Linked DNA regions of Homo sapiens: region 2 is linked to region 1. The links are contacts of gene promoters, found by promoter capture Hi-C in human tissues and cell types (Jung and others, 2019). All regions are on one chromosome and are shown on one strand. The core of a region is centred on a gene start or on the middle of the fragment in contact, and the rest is flanking DNA. Distances in the headings are between cores, read along the strand shown. Region 1 holds the start of CSH2 (chorionic somatomammotropin hormone 2). Region 2 overlaps ERN1 (endoplasmic reticulum to nucleus signaling 1).

The links. The method cuts DNA at HindIII sites, captures the fragments that hold promoters and counts their contacts. A contact is called where the count stands out against the background at its distance.
Region 2: a fragment that was not itself captured here is called in contact with the fragment with the promoter of CSH2 in region 1 in 1 of the 25 tissues and cell types used here (aorta).

The regions. Positions count from the first base shown.
Region 1 is chr17:63,870,143-63,875,843 of GRCh38, reverse strand. CSH2 (chorionic somatomammotropin hormone 2) reads left to right here and starts at 2,167. Exons shown (of 5, transcript NM_020991.4): 1 at 2,167-2,239; 2 at 2,505-2,665; 3 at 2,890-3,009; 4 at 3,103-3,267; 5 at 3,521-3,828. The coding sequence starts at 2,230. The coding sequence ends at 3,718. The HindIII fragment of the contact is 22,462 bases long and covers 1-5,701 here.
Region 2 is chr17:64,111,780-64,117,480 of GRCh38, reverse strand. All of the region lies in intron 1 of ERN1 (endoplasmic reticulum to nucleus signaling 1), which reads left to right. Among named protein-coding and RNA genes, the nearest start is that of ERN1, 16 kb to the left of the region's middle. The HindIII fragment of the contact is 4,307 bases long and covers 965-5,271 here.

The DNA.
Region 1 (5,701 bases), core at 918-3,417:
CTACTAAAAAAGTACAAAACTTAGCCCGGCATAGTGGTGGGCACCTGTAATCCCAGCTACTTGGGAGGCTGAGGCGGGAGAATCACTGGAACCCAGGAGGTGGAGGTTGCAGTGAGGCAAGATCATGCCACTGCACTCCAGCCTGGGAGACAGAATGAGACTCCATCAAAAACAAGAAAGAAAGAAAGAAGGAAGGAAGGAAAGAAGGAAGGAAGGAAGAAAGGAAGGAAGGAAAGAAAGAAAGAAAGAAAGAAAGAAAGAAAGAAAGAAAGAAAGAAAGAAAGAAAGAAAAAGAAAGAAAGAAGGAAGGAAGGAAAGAAGGAAGGAAGGAAGAAAGGAAGGAAGGAAAGAAAGAAAGAAAGAAAAAGAAAGAAAGAAAGAGAAAGAAAAAGGAAAGCAAGAAAGAAAAGAAAGAAAGAAAGAAAGAAAAAGAAAGAAGGAAAGAAAAGAAACTAAAATAACTAAATAACTGAGTAGCACCACACCACCTGCTCTGGAGAAAGGACTTTTGTTGTTGTTGTTGTTGTTGTCGTCGTTGTTGTGGTTGTTGAAATGGAGTCTCACTCTGGCGCCCAGGCTGGAGTGCCATGGCCCAATCTTGGCTCACGGCAACCTCTGCGTCCTGGGTTCAAGCGATTCTACCTCCTCACCCTCCGGAGTAACTGGGATTGCAGGCTTCTGCCACCACACACAGCTACTTTTGTACTTTTAAGAGATGGAGTTTTGCCATGTTGGCTAGTCTGGCCTTGAACTGACCTCAAGTGATCCACCCACCTCAGTCTTCCAAAGTGCTGGGATTACAGGCATGAGCCACCGTGCCCGGCCTGGAGAAAGGACTTTAAATGATGCAATGTGGGAAGAGCAAGGTTGTGGAGATCTGCTGCCCTGGCTGAGGTAGCTCATGTAATCAGTCTCTCTGAGCCTCAGTCTCCTGATCTGTGAAATGGGATGATACTCATACCTCCTACACAAGACAAGTGGCAGATCAGACGTGAGAATGCACAGGCAGGCCTTTGACAACTGGATAAGCTCTACACAGGTCTGGAAAGGAGGAAGAGACAAAAGAGGACGGGCTTCCATGGCTGGATAGGGCATCTTTCGGCGTGATGTGTTCTGAGTTCCAAAGCTGGGAAGAGACTCAAATCTTTTTTTTCTTTTTTTTTAATTATTATTATTCTTTTACTTTAAGTTTTAGGGTACATGTGCACAATGTGCAGGTTAGTTACATGTGTATACCTGTGCCATGCTGGTGTGCTGCACCCATTAACTTGTCATTTAGCATTAGGTATATCTCCTAAAGCTATCCCTCCCCCCTCCCCCCACCCCACAACAGTCCCCAGAGTGTGATGTTCCCCTGAGACTCAAATCTTCAAGAGCTCTTCCAACCTTGAGATTCTCTGATGGTTTCAGGGCTGTGGGAGGAAGCGCTTGTGGTCCGTGTCTGTTCCCGGGATTTCTGTTTCTTGGTTTGTGTCTCTGCTGCAGGTCCAAGGAGCTGAGGCAATACCTTGAGTCTGGGTTCTTCGTCCCCAGTGACCTGGGGGAGCCCCACCGCCTCCGCCCCAAGGTTCAGGGAAAGGGGAGAGCAATGTGTGGGGTTGGTTCTCTCTAGTGGTCAGTGTTAGCACTGCATCCAGCTGACTCAGGTGGGCCCAGGAGTCATCAGCAAAAGTGGAATTCAGGACTCAATGGTGCTCAGAACCCCCACAATCTATTGGCTGTGCTTGGCCCCTTTTCCCAACACACACATTCTGTCTGGTGGGTGGAAGTTAAACACGCGGGGAGGAGGAAAGGAATAGGATAGAGAGTGGAATGGGGTCGGTAGGGGTCTCAAGGACTGGCTATCCTGACAGCCTTCCCCGCATTCAGGTTGACCAACATGGCCTGCGGCCAGAGGGCACCCACCTGACCCTTAAAGAGAGGACAAGTTGGGTGGAGTCTGTGGCTGACACTCTGTGCACAATCCTTACAACACTGGTGATGGTGAGAAGGGAAAGACGACAAGCCAGGGGGCATGATCCCAGCATGTGTGGGAGGAGCTTCCAAATTATCCATTAGCACAAGCCCGTCAGTGGCCCCATGCATAAATGTACACAGAAACAGGTGGGGTCAAGCAGGGAGAGAGAACTGGCCAGGGTATAAAAAGGGCCCACAAGAGACCGGCTCTAGGATCCCAAGGCCCAACTCCCCGAACCACTCAGGGTCCTGTGGACAGCTCACCTAGCGGCAATGGCTGCAGGTAAGCGCCCCTAAAATCCCTTTGGGCACAACGTGTCCTGAGGGGAGAGGCAGCGCCCTGTAGATGGGACGGGGGCACTAACCCTCAGGTTTGGGGCTTATGAATGTGAGTATCGCCATCTAAGGCCAGATATTTGGCCAATCTCTGAATGTTCCTGGTCTCTGGAGGGATGGAGAGAGAGAAAAAAACAAACAGCTCCTGGAGCAGGGAGAGCGCTGGCCTCTTCCTCTCCGGCTCCCTCCATTGCCCTCCGGTTTCTCCCCAGGCTCCCGGACGTCCCTGCTCCTGGCTTTTGCCCTGCTCTGCCTGCCCTGGCTTCAAGAGGCTGGTGCCGTCCAAACCGTTCCGTTATCCAGGCTTTTTGACCACGCTATGCTCCAAGCCCATCGCGCGCACCAGCTGGCCATTGACACCTACCAGGAGTTTGTAAGTTCTTGGGGAATGGGTGCGGGTCAGGGGTGGCAAGAAGGGGTGACTTTCCCCCACTGGGGAAGTAATGGGAGGAGACTAAGGAGCTCAGGGTTGTTTTCTGAAGCGAAAATGCAGGCAGATGAGCATAGGCTGAGCCAGGTTCCCAGAAAAGCAACAATGGGAGCTGGTCTCCAGCATAGAAACCAGCAGTCCTTCTTGGTGGGGGGTCCTTCTCCTAGGAAGAAACCTATATCCCAAAGGACCAGAAGTATTCATTCCTGCATGACTCCCAGACCTCCTTCTGCTTCTCAGACTCTATTCCGACACCCTCCAACATGGAGGAAACGCAACAGAAATCCGTGAGTGGATGCCGTCTCCCCTAGGCGGGGATGGGGGAGACCTGTGGTCAGGGCTCCCGGGCAGCACAGCCACTGCCGGTCCTTCCCCTGCAGAATCTAGAGCTGCTCCGCATCTCCCTGCTGCTCATCGAGTCGTGGCTGGAGCCCGTGCGGTTCCTCAGGAGTATGTTCGCCAACAACCTGGTGTATGACACCTCGGACAGCGATGACTATCACCTCCTAAAGGACCTAGAGGAAGGCATCCAAACGCTGATGGGGGTGAGGGTGGCGCCAGGGGTCGCCAATCCTGGAACCCCACTGGCTTAGAGGGCTGGGGGAGAGAAACACTGCTGCCCTCTTTGTAGCAGTCAGGCGCTGACCCAAGAGAACTCACCTTATTCTTCATTTCGCCTGGTGAATCCTCCAGGCCCTTCTCTACACCCTGAAGGGGAGGGAGGAAAATGGATGAATGAGAGAGGGAGGGAACAGTGCCCAAGCGCTTGGCCTCTCCTTCTCTTCCTTCACTTTGCAGAGGCTGGAAGACGGCAGCCGCCGGACTGGGCAGATCCTCAAGCAGACCTACAGCAAGTTTGACACAAACTCACACAACCATGACGCACTGCTCAAGAACTACGGGCTGCTCTACTGCTTCAGGAAGGACATGGACAAGGTCGAGACATTCCTGCGCATGGTGCAGTGCCGCTCTGTAGAGGGTAGCTGTGGCTTCTAGGTGCCCGCGTGGCATCCTGTGACCGACCCCTCCCCAGTGCCTCTCCTGGCCCTGGAAGGTGCCACTCCAGTGCCCATCAGCCTTGTCCTAATAAAATTAAGTTGTATCATTTCATCTGACTAGGTGTCATTCTATAATATTATGGGGTGGAAGGTGGTGGTATGGAGCAAGGGGTAGGTGGAAAGAAGACCTGGAGGGCCTTCAAGGTCTATTGGGAACTAGGCCGCTGAAATATAAGAGGCTTGGCTGTTCCTGGGCCAGAAAAAGGCTGACACATCACCGCTATTACTCACTAAGGCCATTCCACCAGCTCAGTGGTCCCAGCTTGCTGGTCACAGCTCATTGGTCATCCCAGAGATGACTTGAAGGCATTTCTTCCTCCCCCACCATCACCAGCAACACCAAACCTAGCCCTCCAGGAGCGGGAAGAAATGAAAACAAGATGGGCTATTAAGTGCAGAGGCAAAAACTCCCCAACAGGTGAGGAAACAATGGCATAGAATTACTTGTGTTCAGAAGAATTTTAGGATGAATATTCCTTAAGCCCAACTACTCTCGGGAAATGAGAACAATGCAAAAATGAGTTTGAGACATACAGAACCAGAGCATTTGGAATCTGAATTAGGGCAAGGGAAGTGGAAGAGTGATTTTATTTGGGGTTGTAAATGCAGTGCCAACAGGTGCCAGGTAGATAACAACGTAAGCAATGAGGGCTGGATGGGAGGGGATAAATCCCAGATGACACTCGCTTCCCTTCAGGGGATGCAACACAGAGGGGTGGGAACCAGCACAATCTGCAGAACTCAAGCCCCTGCTGAGGTGGGACCCACCCAGCCTGTCACCATCAGGACTGAAGGGACACGGCTTCCAGACCTTCTGATTCTTTGAGACAGCCAGGACATCCAGACTTTTACAGGAATTCTAACATTTAAACACTGGCAACACATATTGAAAATCTTTTAAGGGCAAAAATTAACCCAAACACACATGGTCTCCAAGCTGTCTGTGAGCAATTTTATTCTAAGAGATGTTGATTGGGGTAACTTGGTGTAAGGGAAAGAATCAGAAAGATTTGGGCTGTATGCAATTTAGTGCTGCTGAATAAATTACTTGACCAAGCTGAGATAATAATATATTGCTTTACAAGGATTATGTGAGGATAAATGCAATGGTATTTTTGACATATTATAGTACTCAAGAAATTGTAGTTATTTCTGCATTGAATTTTTGGATGTTTTGTGTTTTCTGATGGAGTGTCTAAATACCTGTAGTGAAATTATATTGTTTTCCTAATGACAATTAGGAAATAGTAAACATCTGAGATGTTTATTATTTCCAAATAAGCACTAAAGAGCGGTGGTTAGTTAAGAGTTTACTCTCCCAAGCACCTTGGCTAAGTGACTGGTGACCTATAAATCGATGCTAAGATGCTCACAGGAACTCTAGTATCCAAAAATGATTTCATGAAGTCAGGAATTGTTTTGCAATGCAAATAATCAACCCCCTAATTAATCTTCTTTAGAAGTTCTGATTCTTATGTGCTATCATGAATTTTCTTGATAACGAGAACCACTTGTGTTCATTTTTGGCTATTTTACAGTTAATAACTCAGTCCTTGGGAAGTGGTTGAAAGTTGAAATAATCAGAACTCTAGAGCTGCTGCATTTCTCAGCTCAGAAGACATTTCTTCATCTTACATCATTCTTCTACTATCGGGCTTTAAAATTATGGCATTTTGGAGTTAGAAGGGCCTCATAAGTCAGTCTAGTTTCTTCTACTTTGGGAATCTTATCCTACGGCGTCCATTACAGTCAGTATTCCAATTATGAGTGTGTAGCACTAGAACCAAAGGAATCACTTTCACAAGGCTCCTCATTCTATTAAACCACTCTCATTGCAAAAAACTATTTCTTGCACAAAGCTGGAATCAATATTCCTGCAATGTCCTTCATTTGGCCTTAAAATTATTTAGAAATCTCAGTC
Region 2 (5,701 bases), core at 1,869-4,368, 240 kb before region 1:
CTTTTTTCTTTTCTTTTTCTTTTTCTTTCTTTTTTTTTGAGATAGAGTCTCACTGTGTCGCCCACACTGGAGTGCAGTGGCGTGATTTTGGCTTACTGCAACCTCCGCCTCCCGGGTTCAAGTGATTTTCGTGCTTCAGCCTCCCGAGTAGCTGGGATTACAGCCATGTGCCAATACGCCCAGCTAATTTTTGTATTTTTAGTAGAGACGGGGTTTCGCCATGTTGCCCAGGTGAGTCTCAAACTCCTGGCCTCAAGTGATCCACCTGCTTTGGCCTCCCAAAGTGCTGGGGTTACAGGCATGAGCCACTGCGCCTGGCCACATTGTTGATTTTTTTAAAAATTTTTATTATTTATTTATTTTTTGAGATGGAATCTCACTCTGTCGTTGAGGCTGGAGTGAGGGCAGTGGCATGATCTCTGCTCACTGCAAGCTCCGCCTCCCGGGTTCACACCATTCTCCTGCCTCAGCCTCCCAAGTAGCTGGGAATACAGGCACACGCCACAACACCTGGCTTTTTTTTTTTTTTTTTGTATTTTTAGTAAAGACAGGGTTTCACCGTGTTAGCCAGGATGGTCTCAATCTCCGGACCTTGTGATCCGCCCACCTCGGCCTCCCAAAGTGCTGGGATTACAGGCATGAGCCACCGCTCCCGGCCACGTTGTTGATTTTTAAGGATAACATGATAAGACATTAAATCCTGTCAGGGAAACCTCAGAAAACCCCCACAACTCAGAGGGGTCAGAACCAGCCATTCTTTGATTTTTGTGATGGCTGTGCACCCAAATACACAAATGGGTGTGTTTGTGTGTGTGTGTGTGTGTGTTATTTTTTTTTTACATTAAATAAGATTACATTTTTTTTCCATTGTAGGAGTATTTGTAACATCTCCCGATAAATTGAAATGCGGTAAGAAAGTTCTAAGAACAAATTTGGGGAATCTCTGACCTTTAAAGGTACTACCTCATTATGAGCAATCCAGTGACCTTATTCTAGAATTCTGTTAGGGTTCGTTTTCCACTTGCCATGAGCTGGTTTTGCAAAGAAGAAAACGGTTTCCTTTATATGTGGAGATTAAGAACAAGTTTATCTGTAGTTTTGGTGCTCGACTAACTGGGAACCAAGCCACAGTTGCTTGTAAAACGGACCCTAAGTTATCTTGATCTTGATGGTTCAGTGCTTGGAAATCTCTGGGGCTTTCGGTGCCTGGTAAAAGTTCAATCACTTATCTGATTTGTGGTTGGCAGAAGAAAAGGTATCACCCTTTCAGTTTAGGAGATGGTTGCTTTTAGAGTCTATAGTAGGTAGGTGTGCCTGGGAATCAGCCACCTGGTCCCATGTAACATTAGTTGATTTTCATGGTATTTCTTTTCCCCATCCTGAACCTTAAAGTGAGTCAGATTATTACTAATTTCTAATGTTGCAATATTTTGAGATAAGCGGAGACACTTAGATGTTGCAAGACCAGGATTGGAAATGACTATGTTCAAAGGCATTAGGACTTCTAAACTCTGTCAAATTGTTATGCGGATTTTGGGCATGTTTTGATTGGTTGGGGCTAGAAGAAGCTGCAGCAAAGCCTGAGGAGAGATGAGGGTCTGGTAAGTCATGGATCATCATGCTTCAGAGCTGCAGCCACCATCCACCTCAGGCTTCTTACTTTCTTGGAAACCCATGCCTGGAAAAATCTAATGACTTGCCCAGAGCTCAAACCAGACCATGCATCTGTGTGCCCACCTCATCTTCTGTCAGCTTCATTCACCCCAAAAGCATCTATATGTTCCAGACTCATGAGGATACCTGAGGAACTTTGGTTTTGTTTTTAAACCAAAGAGTTTTGAGAGGATAAAATAACAGGTTTTGAAGCTATATGGACACAGGCTAGGGCAAGGAGTGAGAAGACAGCTGAGCAGGGTAGGGTGGGACCAGACTCTTGGAACTGCTCTGGGCAGGACCTGGATATGCTGCCAAGTCAGCTTTCGGGAAGTTCGGCCATGGAACTTGCCGTCTTTTTTTCTGCATTACACGACTCTCCTGCTAGACGGCAAACCCCTTGAAGCCAGGAGTTTTACAGGCCTTGGGGCGGCATTGCCTTGTGTGTAACAGGACCCTTCTTTCTGCATATATGTAGGATAAGAGTCCAGCTTAGGGGCAGGGTTGGAGTAAGTGAACTAGCACACAGGAGTTGAAATAGAAGAGTCAGCCAACAGGAAGAAGTATGAGGCAGGGAGTGCCTGGAAGAGATTGGCAAATCCTGAAGTCCTTGCCAGCCTACTTGAGTAATGTGAGACCATGAGCCAATGACTTACCTTGTCCTGTAAGTTTAGTATCCCCAAGATTTCTGCCTCTTGTAATGAAAATAGTCCTGGCACTGACTGCAGGTACTGTGGAGATGGGGCGCCTGGAAGATTAAAAAGACGGGAAGGTGCAGGTTTAACTCCTCAACCCTTCAGAGGGAGCTTTCTGATTCCATGCATGATGGCTAGTCAGAGAAATGGCTCCCCCTCAAATGAGGAGTCTTAGGAAGCAAGAAAACCTGCCTTGGGGTTTGTTCTGAAGGCCACATTTCATCACAAAAACAGCCATATTTACTACGCTCTCCTACGAAGTTCTGATGTGTTCTGCTAATATTCAGCTGTAAACCAGCTAGGCAACATCAGTCGAATGTTAGTATAAATTAAAACACTGGAGGAGACTCACCGAGAGTGTGAACAGATTGTGGTTGGTGTATTACACGCCTCACCTTAGGGAGAGTGCTTTTTTTTCTTCCAGGTGGCTTTACAACGATGTGAACAGCAACCTTCCTGTTCTTTCCTTCAGCTGCATAGATAACAAATAAGACACGTAAAAAAAAGATTCTGACTCTTGTGGCCCACGCCATTCTGGGACTTCTCCCCCAACCTCACCGTGTCCCATATCCCCTCTGCCTTCTCTGTCCAGCTACACTGGTCCACCGGGTCCTCAAACACAACAAATTCTCTGCAGTCTCAGAATTTTGCATAGGCTATTCCCTCTGCCCAGGAAATTCTTCTTTCCTTCTCCCTTTCCTATAGATCTTAACTCAAACATCATTTTTAACACTGTGCTTCCCCCACCATCACAAGACCAGATGCTCTTCTTCTGTTATGCTGTCGCAGTTTCCAGTATGTCCCTTTCATGGCACTTACTACAATTTGTCATTTTATGTTTGTGTCATTATTGATTACTGGGGTCTCCTATTGGACTGTAAGCTCCATGAAAGCAGGAAACCAGATCTCATTTGTTGTGATTAGATCCTAGTGTCTCATACAGTTCTTAATGAATAATAGTAACTGACACTTACATGATGCTTACTGTATATTAGGCCCGTTCAAGAGCTTTACTTATGTTGACTCAACACTCCTTGCAAAAGCTTTTTTTTTTTTTTTTTTAGCATTTACCTTCTTATTACAGTCTTTGAAAGCCCATGGAATTATTCTAGGGACACAGAGGACTTTGTGGCATAGATTTAGGTAAAGGTCACCGGGCACGGTGGTTCACGCCGGTAATCCCAGCACTTTGGGAGGCCGAGGTGGGTGGATCACAAGGTCAGGAGTTCAAGACCAGCCTGGCCAAGATGGTGAAACCCCCATCTCTACTGAAAATACAAAAATTAGCCGGGCATGGTGGTGGGCGCCTGTAATCCCAGCTACTCGGGAGGCTGAGGCAGAGAATTGCTTGAACCCAGGAGGTGAAGGTTGCAGTGGGCCGAGATCACGCCACTGCACTCCAGCCTGGGCGACAGAGTGAGACTCTGTCTCCAAAACAAAACAAAACAAAAAAATTGCCTGGCGGCATGGTGACTCGTGCCTATAATCCCAGCTACTCCAGAGGCTGAGGCGGGAAAATTGCTGGAACCTGGGAGGCAGAGGTTGCAGTGAGCCGGGATCACGCCACTGCACTCCAGCCTGGGTGACAGAGCGAGACTCTGTCTCAAAAAAAAAAAAAGATTTACGTAAAGGGCAAAATGCTCTGGAAAAATAAAGTGTTAGATACCAGGGAGATTTGGCCATAGCTGGAAATGTTTAACTCTGCGAATACTTGGAGCCACTAATTATGTATACTTGTTTTATTCATAATTTGTAATGGTCTAGGATAGCAAAAGTAATGTGAATCATGGTTGAATTTAATAAAATGTTTTTAACCTCATCCTAAAATATCCACTGATCCATCTCATTCAATGGCAATATGCAGTGGTTAAGGGAACATAAAAACAAACATCCACACAGCTGCACAGTTCTCATGAAAGTCTATCTCATTATTGGTGGGGGTAGCACATTTAACAGCTTAAACATATAGGTCACTGCATGATGCCGCACTGGTAACTAGATAGCCAGGGAACCAACTAACCAGTAACTGTTAAAATATTTAAAATACAGCTTTTGTTTAGATCATCCTTTGGATCACCTTCTTGGGAAAAAAGCCTGCTAGTCACAGTGGAAATATATTAAGGCCCGATCTTCTGATATCCATTCCCAGAGGTTTCTTTCAGCTAGATTAAGCCTCCACCTCCAGAGCACACCCAAGTTTGTGATCTCCAGCATTGATGATCTCTTGTCTACCAGAGCAGACAGTGTGAGCCTCACACCAGGCCTCAGAGTCTGTGTGTAGCCCACTCCAATTAGACTAGAGTTGGTGACTTTTGCATTTACTGGTTTATGATAAAGGATACAGATGAAGAGACGCATAGGGCAAGGCATGCGGGAAGGGGCATGGAGATCTCATGCCCTTGGGGTATGCCCCACCCATCAGGAATCTCCATGTGTTCAGCTGTGCAGAAGCTTTTCCCAACAACTTTTTAAAGTTAATTAGCATTATCCCCATTTTATGGATGAGAAACTGAAGGCACAGAGAGGTAAGTGATTGCCTGAGGTGGTCTGGCTCCACAATCTACCTTTTTAACAACCACATTATACTGCTCAGGAACTACACTGAACTTAACAAGTATCTATTGAATCGTTTAGCCGCAGCATCATAGGTGAGTTTCCAAATGATGGAAATACAATCCCATAACTTAAAATATAGTAATGTTTACTGACAACCTCCTCAGCAGTTATACTCTGCTTCCTTCTTCTTCTTCTTTTTTTTTTTTTTTGAGACAGAGTCTCGGTCTGTCGCCCAAGCTGGAGTGCAATGGTGCAATCTCAGCTCACTGCGCTGTCCACCTCCTGGGTTCAAGTGATTCTCCTGCCTCACCCACTCGAGGAGCTGGGATTACAAGCATGTGCCACCGTGTCCGGCTAATTTTTGAGTATTTAATAGAGATGGGGTTTTACCACGTTGGCTAGGCTGGTCTTGAACTCCTGACCTCAAGTGATCTGCCCACCTTGGCATCCCAAAGTGCTGGGATTACAGGCATGAGCCACTGCTCCCGGCCACTGCTTCCTTCTTGAACACCACGAGCCAAACATATTTTAACTCTTCCTTAATTATTCCTGATTGTCTCCTAGCACCAGTTGTTACATTATTGCTGTCTGCCCATGAGGGTAAGAGATGAGGAGCAATGGAGGTAAGAGATGAGGAGCAGTGGATTATCAGGTTTTTGAGTTTGGTTTACTTCCTGATGATTTCTTTGGCTGCCACCAATTTTTTTTTAAATTAAATAGTCTCCCTTAATATTTGTATAACTCTTACTTTTGAAATTCTCAATATTTGTTTTGCTTTCTTAGTGTTTAGAGAGATG